Linked DNA regions of Homo sapiens: region 1 is linked to region 2. Evidence: promoter capture Hi-C in human tissues and cell types (Jung and others, 2019). All regions are on one chromosome and are shown on one strand. Each heading gives the region's core, a stretch centred on a gene start or on the middle of the fragment in contact. The rest is flanking DNA. Distances are from core to core; before and after follow the strand shown. Region 1 overlaps ZNF468 (zinc finger protein 468). Region 2 holds the start of ZNF614 (zinc finger protein 614).

Region 1 (5,986 bases), core at 867-3,366, 810 kb after region 2:
TCTGGCTCTGCCCTCCCCTTGGGGCCTTGTTCTCACCAGGATCCAGACAGTGGATGACAAAGGCACAAAAATAATCACACAGAACAGGCAACGTGGACGAGAGGTGGGGTGAATGATGGGCTGTGTGAAAGGAAATAAATCTGTGAGCCCCCAAATCATTAAGCAAAAGGCAAAAGTCAAGCTGGGAACTGCTTAGGGAACCAGACTCCCCTTCTATTCAAAGTCACCCCTCTGCTCCCTGATATAGATGCATGTCTGAGTGCCTCCTTCAAAAGGCTAATCAGAAACTCAAAAGAAGGGCCCAGCACAGTGGCTCATGCCTGTAATCCCAGCACTGTGGGAGGCTGATGCAGTGAGCTGAGATCATACCACTGCACTCCAGCCTGGGCAACAAAATGAGACTTCATCTCAAAAAAACAAAACAAAACAAAACAAAAACTTAAAAGATTGCAACCATCTGTGCCTCATTTATCTGTGACCTGGAAGTCACCTCCCTGCTTGAACCTGGGAGAAGGAGGTTGCAGTGAATCGAGATCTATAGGGTCCAGCCCTTTGGGGCTTAGTGGGTGTTCTCCCCATGTGCAGAGACAAGAGATTGTAATAAATAAAGACAGAAGACAAAGAGATAAAGAGAAAACAGCTGGGCCCGGGGGACCACTACCATCAAGACGTGGAGACCAGCAGTGGCCCCAAATGGCTGGGCGCGCCGATATTTATTGCATACAAGACAAGGGGGCAGGGTAAGGAGGGTGAATCTTCTAAGTGATTGATAAGGTGAAGCAAATCATGTGATCACAGGACAGGGGGCCCTTCCCTCTTAGGTAGCCGAAGCAGAGAGAGAAGGCAGCATACGTCAGCGTTTTCTTCTATGCACTTATAAGAAAGATCAAAGACTTCAAGACTTTCACTATTCCTTCTACCGCTATCTACTACGAACTTCAAAGAGGAGCCAGGAGTACGGGAGGAGCATGAAAGTGGACAAGGAGCATGACCATTGAAGCACAGCACCACAGGGAGGGGTTTAGGCCTCCGGATGACTGCGGGCAGGCCTGGATACTATCCAGCCTTCCACGAGAAGCTGGTGGAGCAGAGTGTTCCCTGACTCCTCCAAGGAAAGGAGACCCCCTTTCGTGGTCAGCTAAGTAACAGGTGCCTTCCCAGACACTGGCGTTACCGCTTGACCAAGGACCCCTCAAGCGGCCCTTATGCGGGCGTGACAGAGGCCTCACCTCTTGCCTTCTAGGTCACTTCTCACCATGTCCCTTCAGCACCTGACCCTATACCTGCCGGTTATTCCTAGGTTATATTAGTAATGCAACAAAGAGTAATATTAAAAGCTAATGATTAATAATGTTTATAATAATGATTGATAATTGTCCATGATCATCTCTATATCTAATTTGTATTATGACTATTCTTATTCTAACTATTTTCTCTATTATACTGAAACAGTTTGTGCCTTCAGTCTCTTGCCTCAGCAGCTGGGTGATCCTCCACCCACAGAGATAAAGCCCTGCACTACAGCCTGGGCGAGAAGAGCCAAACTCCAACACACACACAAAGAAAGAATTTCAGAAGTGATGTATCTTCTCAGTCCTTTCATGTATACATGCAAATTTCTCTTTACATTACAAATTACAACACTTACAAATAAAGTAATTTATTTCCCATATTTAAAATACATGCTGTCAAGTTCGGCTAAGTTTCCGGACGTACACAGTCACCCTCATCTGAGATGTGCAGACTGCAAGGGAATGTGTTTGGGGGTTTAGGAAGTCACTTTTGGACATGTGAAGGTGGAGATGCCTGTTTGATGTCCCAGCAGAGAGGTGAGCAGACAACTGCACACAGGATTGTAGAGCTCAGTGGAGAGGCCTGCAGGGGACATGGGTAGGTGGGTTAAAGCTGTGAGATGAGATAAGGAAAAGCAGTGGGTGTGGACAGAGACAAGAATAGGTTCAAGACAATTTGAGTCAAATCTCTTGTTTTTTCCATTCCGGTATTTTTGTTTTTTACATTTTTGTAGGACAGGAATCTATTAAAAATTCAAATTACACCTGAGCATCACCCTCTCCTAAAGGAAAAGCCACAAACTATTTGACAAAGTATTTCAGGGGTCAGTGTCACTCTGACTGAGCTTTTCTGGTCTCATTCCTCACCTGTACATTACTGGTTGAGTCACTGTTGTTTCGAGCAGGAGATACTTCACCAAAAGTACAAAAAATTAGCCAGGCGTGGTGGTGTGCATCTGTGGTCTCAGCCATTTAAGAACTGACTGGGGTGGATATTTGGGCCTGGGAGGCAGAGGTTGCGTTAAGCCAAGATCGTGTCACTGCATGCAAGTATGGGTGACCGAGTGACACCCTGTCTCAAAAAAAGAAAGAAAAAAAAACATTCCAGGACAATTTTATACACCTGAGCAAATGAAATGTCTCTTTCAATGTCTAAGGTCCTGATGGCATGAATCCTAAACATGTAATTATTTTCCCAGAAAAATGACAGTAGTACATTCAAAATACACACAACTGTGAACCCCTAGCTATAGGTGTTTAAAACACTGAAAGAGAAGCAGCATTACAAATGAGATCTGAACAAATGTTTTCTTCTTGAACACACGGGCTTTGCTGGAACAAGGTTCCAAGTCAATTCTGCCCATCCTTGAACATCTGCAAAAAATATTATGGACCAGAGGAACTTGAGGGGAACGTTTACTTAGCAGCTCACAGCTCACCATTTTATCAGGTGACATAAAGAAAGAAAATGGAATAATAGGCTACTTCAACTAAATTTTGATGTTAGCATAAAGAAAAAGTTCCTTGATATCTTTATCAAGTACACATTGAAACAAACTAAAATCATTTATCAGGTACCAGAAAATGTTTCCAATGTATGATACAGACTAGAAAGCATGCCGTCCTCAATGTAAACTGAACACAATAAATTTCAGAGAAAAACAGTTTTAAAATGGTTAAAAAATATATCTAATGAAATGTGGGGTCATAGAAGAATATTTTGAACACATATTATAGTTGCAAAACAATGATGTTACCTCATAAGATTATATCAAAGCTTTTTTGAGAAGCAGTATTTTATTTATTTTATTTTTTTTATTTTATTTGAGACAGAGTCTTGCTGTGGCCCAGCTGGACTGCAGTTGTGCGATCTCGGCTCACTGCAACCTCTGCTTCCAAAATGAAAGCCATTCTTCTACCAGCCTCCCGAGTAGCTGTGTTACAGGCACTCGCCACACCAAGCTAATTCCTACATTTTAGTCAACATTGTCTTGTCCCAACTTAAAATGACTTATGCATTTACAAAACAGTGATTTCTTTGGGGCATCGCCCCCATAACCTTTTCATAAAGCATTAATGATTTCATTGTTCCTCTACCCAAATTTCACCATATTCATTTTTTGAGACACTGTCTGTCTCTGTCACCCATGCTGGAGTACAGTGGCATGATCACGGCTCCCTACAGCCTCTAACTCCCAGGCTCAAGCCATCCTCCCACTGCAGTCTCCACAGAAGCTGAACCAGCAGGCATGTGCCACCATGCCTAGCTAATTTATGTATTTTTTGTAGAGAAGGGGGTTTCAACATTCTGCCCAGGCTGGTCTTGAATACCGGGGCTCACGTGACCCACCTGTCTCGGCCTCTGAAAGTGCTTGGATTACAGGCCTGAGCCACTGCATCTGCTCTCATCATAAATTTGATGTTTCTTCTTGTTTCAATTTTAGCAAAATTTACACTGCTTTCTTTTTTCAAACTCATGTCTTCCCCTTCTGAGTGCCTCAAACTAGACCCTGTTCAGACATGTTATAACAGATTTGTGCCAGTTTATTTTGGTGCAGAAAATGTGACATCATGTGCAATTTTCACATAATATGTATTTTTTTCATGAACTTCTTGAAGACCCCTTGTACTAGCGAACTGTATTCAAGAGGATATTAAAAGGATTGTAGATATGCAAGTGCCACTTATTTCTGGGATGCAAGGATGGTTCAACATAGTCAAGCAAATCAATGTGATATACCACTTGAACACAATGAAAGATGAAAACCACATCATCTCAATACATGGAGAAAAAGCATTTCACAAAAGTCAACATCAAGTCATCATAGAAATCCCACACAAAATAGATACAGAAGAAAATTTACCTCAGCAATACAAAGACCATCCATGAAATGACCACAGCAGAAATAACCAATCAGGGAAAACGGAATGCTTTTCCTGTAGGATCTCACATGATGCAAGAATGCTCTCACCCCTTCTATTCAATCAATACTGGCTGTCCTAGCCAGAACAATGAAATAGCAAAAGAAATCAAACTCATCCAAATCAGAAAGAAAGAAGTCAAATTTTATTTGTTTGTAGATGACATGACCTTCTGTAAAGAAAATCACAAAGAGTCAGCCAAAATGCAACTGGAACTAACAAACACATTCAGTTTATTTGCAGAATAGAATAACAGCACCAAAAATTAGTTGAATTTCCATACATTAACAATAAATAATTTTAAAAGAAAATTAAAAACCAATTCCATTTGCTAAAGAACTTAAAGTAAGAAATATTTAGGAATAAACATAAAAAGTGAGGTTTGTACCTTGAAATCTATAAACATTGATCAAAATGATTAAAAACATGTATAAATAGATATAAATCCCATACTGATTGGAAAAATGAATATCGCTCAATGATTATATACTCAATTGTGATTTAGATTCGGTACAATACTCATAGAAGTCTCTATAACTTTTTGTTAAAGAAACAAAAAACAGGCCAGGCACAGTGGCTCACTCCTGTAATCTCAGCACTTTGGGAGGTGGAGTCGGGTGGATCATAAAGTCAGAAGATAGAGACCATTCTGGCTAACACGGTGAAACCCAGTCTCTACTAAAAACACAAAAAATTACCCAGGTGTGGTGGCACACAACTGTAGTGTCAGCTACTTGGGAGACTGAGGCAGGAGAATTGCTTGAACCTGGGAGGAGGAGGTTGCAGTGAGCTGAGATCGTGCCACTGCACTCCAACCTGGGCGACAGAGCAAGACTCCATCTCAAAAAAAAAACAAGAAAAAGAAAATAAAGGCTGGGAAAAGTAGCTCCCATCTGTTGGCTAGGCTGTTCTCAAACTCGTGAGCTCCAGTGACCTACCTGTCTTTGCCTCTCAAAGTGCTGGAATTACAGGCATGAGCCATGGCCCCCAGTGCAATCCTCTTAACATAAACAGTTTAATGGCAATTAATGCTTGAAATCAATGTTAAATCAACAAACTCAGGTCAAGGCTGATTTGACTCTAATGTCAATTAATGCTTGATGGTTTGCTATACTCACTGCATTTGAAACAACTGTCTCCAAAAGGAATTGTCTGATGGTCTGCAAGGAGTGACCTTGGACTGAAGACCCTTCCACACTGATGACATTTGTAAGATTTCTGTCCAGCATGGATTCTCTGATGTCTAATGAGGTGTGAATGTGAAGTAAACGCTTTGCCACAATCATCACACTTGTGAGGTTTCTCTCCTGTATGAATCCTCCTATGTTTTGCATAGGATGAAGCTTGACTGAAGACCTTGCCTCAATCATGACATTTATAAGGTTTCTCTCCAGCATGAGTTCACCAGTGAAATGCAAGGCATGAACGATGTCTGAAAAATTTGCCACATTTATTACACTTGTAAGATCTCTTCACTGTGGATTCTCCAATGATGTGCAATGGTTGTAGCATTACTGAAAACTTTGTGACAATCATTACATTAGTCAAGTTTCCCTATACCATGGATTGCTTGATGGTGAATAAGTGGTGACTGCCCACTAAAGGGTTTGCCACACTCATTGCACTTGTAAGGTTTCTCTCCAGTGTGAATTCTAGTATGGGGTGCCACGTGTGAATCATTCCCGAAAGCCTTGTCACAAACCTTACATTTCTATGGCTTTTCTCCAGTGTGAATTCTCCTATGTATTTGAAGCTGGATTTGTGAATGAAAA
Region 2 (5,831 bases), core at 3,182-5,681:
GATGGAAATTGAGCTTACCACCAATAGTTAATGAATTAATAAATTATGCCTATGTAATGAACCCACCAAAACAATAAAAGGATGAGGTTGAGAGCTTCCAGGCTGCTGAACATAGGGTAGTCCTGGGAGGGTAGAATACCCAGAAAGGGCATGGAAGCCCTGAGGCCCTTCCCCATTACCTGACCTATGCATCTTTTCCAACTGGCCATTCCTGAGTTGTACCCTTTCATAATAAGCCAGTAATCTAGTAAGTAAACTGTCTTCCTGCATTTTTTGAGCCTTCTAGCAGATGAATAGATCTGAGAAGGGGGTTGTGGGGACATCCAATTGGTAGCCAAGTCCAAAAGAACTTGTGAGTAACCTGGGGACCCAGCACTTTTCAGGGGGGCAGTATTGTGGGACTGAGCCCTCAACCTGTGGAGTCTGTCCTAAGTCTAGACAATTAGTGTCAGAATTGAGTAAATTTTAGAATACCTAATAGGTATGGAGAATTGAATTGATGTGTGGGAAAAACCCCACATATCTGGTGTCAGATGTGGGGAAAAGAAAGAGAGATCAGACTGTTACTGTGTCTATGTAGAAAGAAGTAGACGTAAGAGACTTCATTTTGTTCTGTACTAAGAGAAATTCTTCTGCCTTGAGATGCTGTTAATCTGTAACCGTAGCCCTAACCCTGTGCTCGCAGAAATATGTGCTGTGTTGACTCAAGGTTTAATGGATTTAGGGCTATGCAGAATGTCCTTTGTTAAAAAAGCACTTGAAGGCAGTATGCTTGTTAAAAGTCATCACCATTCTCTAATCTCAAGTACCCAGGGACACAACACACTGCAGAAGGCCACAGGGGCCTCTGCCTAGGAAAGCCAGGTATTGTCCAAGGTTTCTTCCCAAGTGATAGCCTGAGATATGGCCTCGTGGGAAGGGAAAGACCTGACCGTCCCCCAGCATGACACCGGGGGATACCCGTAAAGGGTCTGTGCTGAGGAGGATTAGAAAAAGAGGAAGGCCTTTTTGCAGTTGAGATAAGAGGAAGGCATCTGTCTCCTGCCAACTACTTGGGAGGCTGAGGCAAGAGAATGGCGTGAACCTGGGAGGCAGAGCTTGCAGTGAGCCAAGACTGCGCCACTGCACTCCAGCCTGGGCAACAGAGCAAGACTCTGTCTCAAAATAAATAAATAAATAAATTAGTAATTTTAAAAAAGTTGGTTGGCAGGCACCAGCATGCAAAGAATGCCAATATTCCAAAAATGGTCTGGAGTATGTACATTAAAATGACAACCATAGTTCCTTCTTGAGTGGTGGGTGATTCATGTATCATTGTAATGGTCAAAAGTTGAACTACCAACAAAGCATGGATTCTTTCATATTGAGTCTACTTTTTTTTCCTTCTTTTTGAGACAGGGTCTTACTTTGTCACCCAGGTTGGAGTGCGGTGGTGCAAACATGGCTCACTGTAGCCTCGTCCTCCTGAGCTCTAGCAATTCTTCTCCCACCTTAGCCTCCCGAGTAGCTGGGATTACAGGTGTGCACCACCACACCCAGCTAATTTTTGTATTTTTTGTAGAGACGGGGTTTCACCATGTTGCCCAGGCTGGTCTTGAACTCCTGAGCTCAAGCGATCCAGAATCTACTTCTTAAGGCAGAATGAACCCCCACCTCTACTCCCAAAAGCAATGTAAGTTAATTTCTCCCTAGAACACAATTATCCCAGTATATACTTCCTTAAGTTCAACTGACTTCTTCAGGCCACCATAAATCTATCAAAAAATCAAAGGGAAAATATCACCTGGGTCTTGATCATTTTCTTCTGTGCTCAGAAAATAGTGGATAACATGGACTATACGTCTTTGTCTCTTCTGCATTTGCCATGAAGTTTTTGAAGTTTTCCTAGTCAGAAATATTAGTGTCCACTTAAAGTTGTCCCCAGAAATTATGATATCCAAGGCCAGCAACCTCCTTCTTCTTCCTTCATTGCTTCACTTGAGTTATTTTGCTTCTGGGAGCCAGGACCTGAGGACTGATAAACAAAATGGCTTTCAGTGTACATTAACCCTGGGTCCAGACATTGTCACTGCTGCTCTGCACTTACCTTAAATAAAAGACCCTAATATTTCTAACAGTTCCTTTATTTGCTGCCTCAGAGGTTTTCATGGTTCTAAATGTGTGAAATCTATGCCTTTCTTTTGTGAAGTAGAAGTGGCATGACTATTATAGAGAAGGTGGGAAAGCAGAACCAGCACAGCACAATGCCTCAGAGGCAGGTGTCTGGGGAAAAGAAAGAGAGATCAGACTGTTACTGTGTCTATGCAGAAAGAAGTAGACATAAGAGGCTCCATTTTGTTCTGTACTAAGAGAAATTCTTCTGCCTTGAGATGCTGTTAATCTGTAACCCTAGCTCCAACCCTATGCTAGCAGAGACATGTGCTGTGTTGACTCAAGGTTTAATGGATTTAGGGCTGTGCAGGATGTGCTTTGTTAAAAACGTGCTTGAAGGCAGTATGCTTGGTAAAAGTCATCACCATTCTCTAATCTCAACTACCCAGAGACACAATACACTGCGGAAGGCCGCGGGGACCTCTGCCTAGGAAAACCAGGTATTGTCCAAGGTTTCTCCCCATATGATAGCCTGAGATATGGCCTCGTGGGAAGGGAAAGACCTGACCGTCCCCTACCCCGACACCTGTAAAGGGTCTCTGCTGAGGAGGATCAGTAAAAGAGGAAGGCCTCTTTGCGGTTGAGATAAGAGAAAGGCATCTGTCTCCTCCTCGTCCCTGGGAATGGAATGTCTCCGTGTAAAACCCCATTGTCTGTTCTATTTACTGAGATAGGAGAAAACCGCCTTAGGGCTGGAGGTGAGACATGCTGGTGGCAATACTGCTCTTTATTGTACCGAAATGTTTGTGTGCGTGCACATCAAGGCACAGCACGTTTCCTTAAACTTATTTATGACACAGAGACCTTTGTTCACATGTTTTCCTGCTGACCCTCTCCCCACTATTACCTTATTGTCCTGCCACATCCCCCTCTCCGAGGTGGTAGAGATAGTGATCAATAAATACTGAGGGAACTCAGAGACCAGTGCCAGCGTGGGTCCTCCGTATGCTGAGTGCTGGTCTCCTGGGCCCACTTTTCTTTCTCTATACTTTGTCTCTTATTTCTTTTCTCAGTCTCTCATCCCACCTGACAAGAAACACCCACAGGTTGTGGAGGGGTGGCCCCCTTCAAGGTGAATTCTCAGACAGATCAATTTTAGGAAAGAGAACACATGGAAGGCTCCAAGAATGTCTTTAAAAACCACGTGTGCCCATGTACTGGTTCGAAAGTCTCTGTAAGCTCTTTGGGTATACATACCTCGTGTCAAGACCAATGTACTAAGCAAATCACAAGAACTGTCTCATTTCACATTATGCGCTAAAGGAGTAACTTTACCCAAGAGAGCTTTGTCCTTTGCCCACAGTTCCTATGAGGCAAACTCTAAGCCTTTGGAATACGCTGCTTGATAAAACTGTCTTTGGTTATCAGGGCAATTTAAGCCATGCCAAATTGTCTATCCTAATAATGTGATTTACTGTGGGAGACCTTGGACCACGTGGTATTAGTTTGATATCTGGAGGAGCTGGAGATTGAAGTCAGCCTCATAGGCAGTCAATTGTGTGTGTGTGTGTTAACTGATATCCAATAAAACTCTGGACACCAAGGCCTAGGTGAGTGGCAACAATGGTTACAATGGCTGGCAATAATAATATAAGGGTGTATATATAAGAATATGATAATTTAAAAACGTATGAAGCAAAACAGAATGAGAGAGGATTAGACAATTCAACAATAATAATTGAAGACTACATTACCCTACTTGCAATAATAAAGAAAACAAATAGAAACTCAGCAAGGATACCGAAAACTTGAACAACATTATCAACCAACTAGACTTAACGAACATTTAACACTGCACTCAACAGCAGTAAAATAAACATTTTTTTCAAGAGCACATGTTATATTCTTCAGGAAAGATAATATCCCATGTGATAGCCTGAGATAGGGCCTCATGGGAAGGGAAAGACCTGACCGTCCCCCAGCCCAACACCCGTAAAGGGTGACTCACAAGGGCCCCAGACCCAGACAGAGTCGGACTCGTCGCTGATTTCCTCAGACTCTTCATCCCTACAGCCAAAGGACCCGTCATTAACGCCCCGCTTCCTCAGCGACTGCGTTCAAATACAGCCCCAATCAGGACGCTCCACGCACCATCGGTACACAGACCCACAGGCCGCGAGTCCATGCCCAGAACTCGACTCACCCGAGCCCGAACCTCTCCAGACACCACTGGCAGCGACAAAACGCCGCATCCACGTCCGAAAACGCTTCCTATTCAGACGCGCTCCTGCGCGGACTCCGGGAAGCTGAGCGGTAAAGACCGTGAAGCGAGGCGAGGACCACGGAGCCTGCCCGGGATCGCGAGTTCAGACTGCGGGCGCCGCTCTATGAGGTCACAGGGCTGCGCCCATCGCAGCGTTTCTGACAGGAGCGGCCATAATGGCTGTGGGAATCACTCTTAGTCACCTCAGTGCCTTTCTCTCTTCGTTGCAAGGGACACTCAAGAGTCGGGTGCCCAGCCAAGGCCAACACGGCGCAGTGGCATTCTATTCAGCCTGCTGTGGAAAAAAGATGGCGGCGCCCTTTGTGCCCATTATAGCTGAGAGTGGAGCCTTAGCTGGAGCACCATGGGCACGGCCATCTTAGAGGAAGGCAGCAGCCGTACGGCAGAGAAGATGCTCATATCCAGGACAATTTGGAAAAATAAACAAGGTTTGAAGAAGTCACGGTGCTGGCCAGGAAGCGGTCACAGAGTTGCCAAAACCAGTGGTCACTGAAAGTGTTAGATTTGGGGATAGGGCGGGGGTTCTGGGCTGGGTAAGGCTTTTGTGGGTTAGATTAGACTCTGACTGAATGGACGAAGCCGAGAACAGGAGTGATGCTCCATTAAATGCTAATACCCACATGGGGCTTGCTATTAAAACCACTGCCAGTGGGGAAGGGGATGAGGAGGTGAAGGTGCAACTGTGTTAATATCTACATGTTTCCTTCCAGAAGTAAAGGAAGATGACAGTGGGGCACTTAAGAATATGAAATTATTAGAATGCGATCATCCTACTTTGCAATGTTTCCAGATTTTTTAAAAAGTCACACTTAAAAAATATTAGTTCTATTTTTGCAGATGTTGGCGTTGTAACTGTAGAAGATTTAAGTAAATATTGTATTTTTGGAAGGCAACCTAGAGCCAATTTAATTTTTTCGTTTTCTTTGACACAGCAATTCTAAAAGCTATCTAGGCAAATCTGTCTTAATATTAACCACAACTTTTGTAATTTACAAAAAAAGGGAATTACAATGAGAGATGAATACTTTGGTAAATTATGGAACATCTGCTGAACTGTAAGAGTATATATCAATTTAAAAGAATATGCTACAATTGTTTTATAAAAAAGAAAACTTTGTCAGAGGACAAAAAAATGATCTGCAGGATAGTATATATTTTATGGTCTTGTTATTGGAAGAAATCATAAACATCTTTTGGAAAATTGTGATTGGTTAAACAAGACATTTAGTTTGAATTAATATTGTTTGTGTTCATAGGTAGAGAATGCCATGTTTTTACTTGAAAAATATTCCCAATTTATACTTAATTTTACTATCTTTGTACCATAATCATGAATATATTATAAAACATGTTGATCTTAGAAAATAGGTATGATGATGTATAATAAGTTCATGGCATGATAAATGCAAAATAGGCTGTTTTCTTTCAGAAAATAAATATGCTCATGCATTTGAAA

What was found. The method cuts DNA at HindIII sites, captures the fragments that hold promoters and counts their contacts. A contact is called where the count stands out against the background at its distance.
Region 1: a fragment that was not itself captured here is called in contact with the fragment with the promoter of ZNF614 in region 2 in 1 of the 25 tissues and cell types used here (pancreas).

What each region holds. Positions count from the first base shown.
Region 1 is chr19:52,834,195-52,840,180 of GRCh38, forward strand. ZNF468 (zinc finger protein 468) reads right to left here. Exons shown (of 4, transcript NM_001008801.2): 4 at 3,816-5,986. Among named protein-coding and RNA genes, the nearest start is that of ZNF28, 16 kb to the left of the region's middle. The HindIII fragment of the contact is 4,394 bases long and covers 1-4,313 here.
Region 2 is chr19:52,023,948-52,029,778 of GRCh38, forward strand. It overlaps ZNF614 (zinc finger protein 614), which reads right to left and starts at 4,432. Exons shown (of 5, transcript NM_025040.4): 1 at 4,295-4,432; 2 at 1,784-2,014. The coding sequence starts at 1,798. LOC112268244 (a long non-coding RNA gene) reads left to right here and starts at 2,452. Exons shown (of 2, transcript XR_002958414.2): 1 at 2,452-2,591; 2 at 3,165-5,831. RefSeq lists enhancers at 2,919-3,689, 4,160-4,919. The HindIII fragment of the contact is 8,645 bases long and covers 1-5,831 here.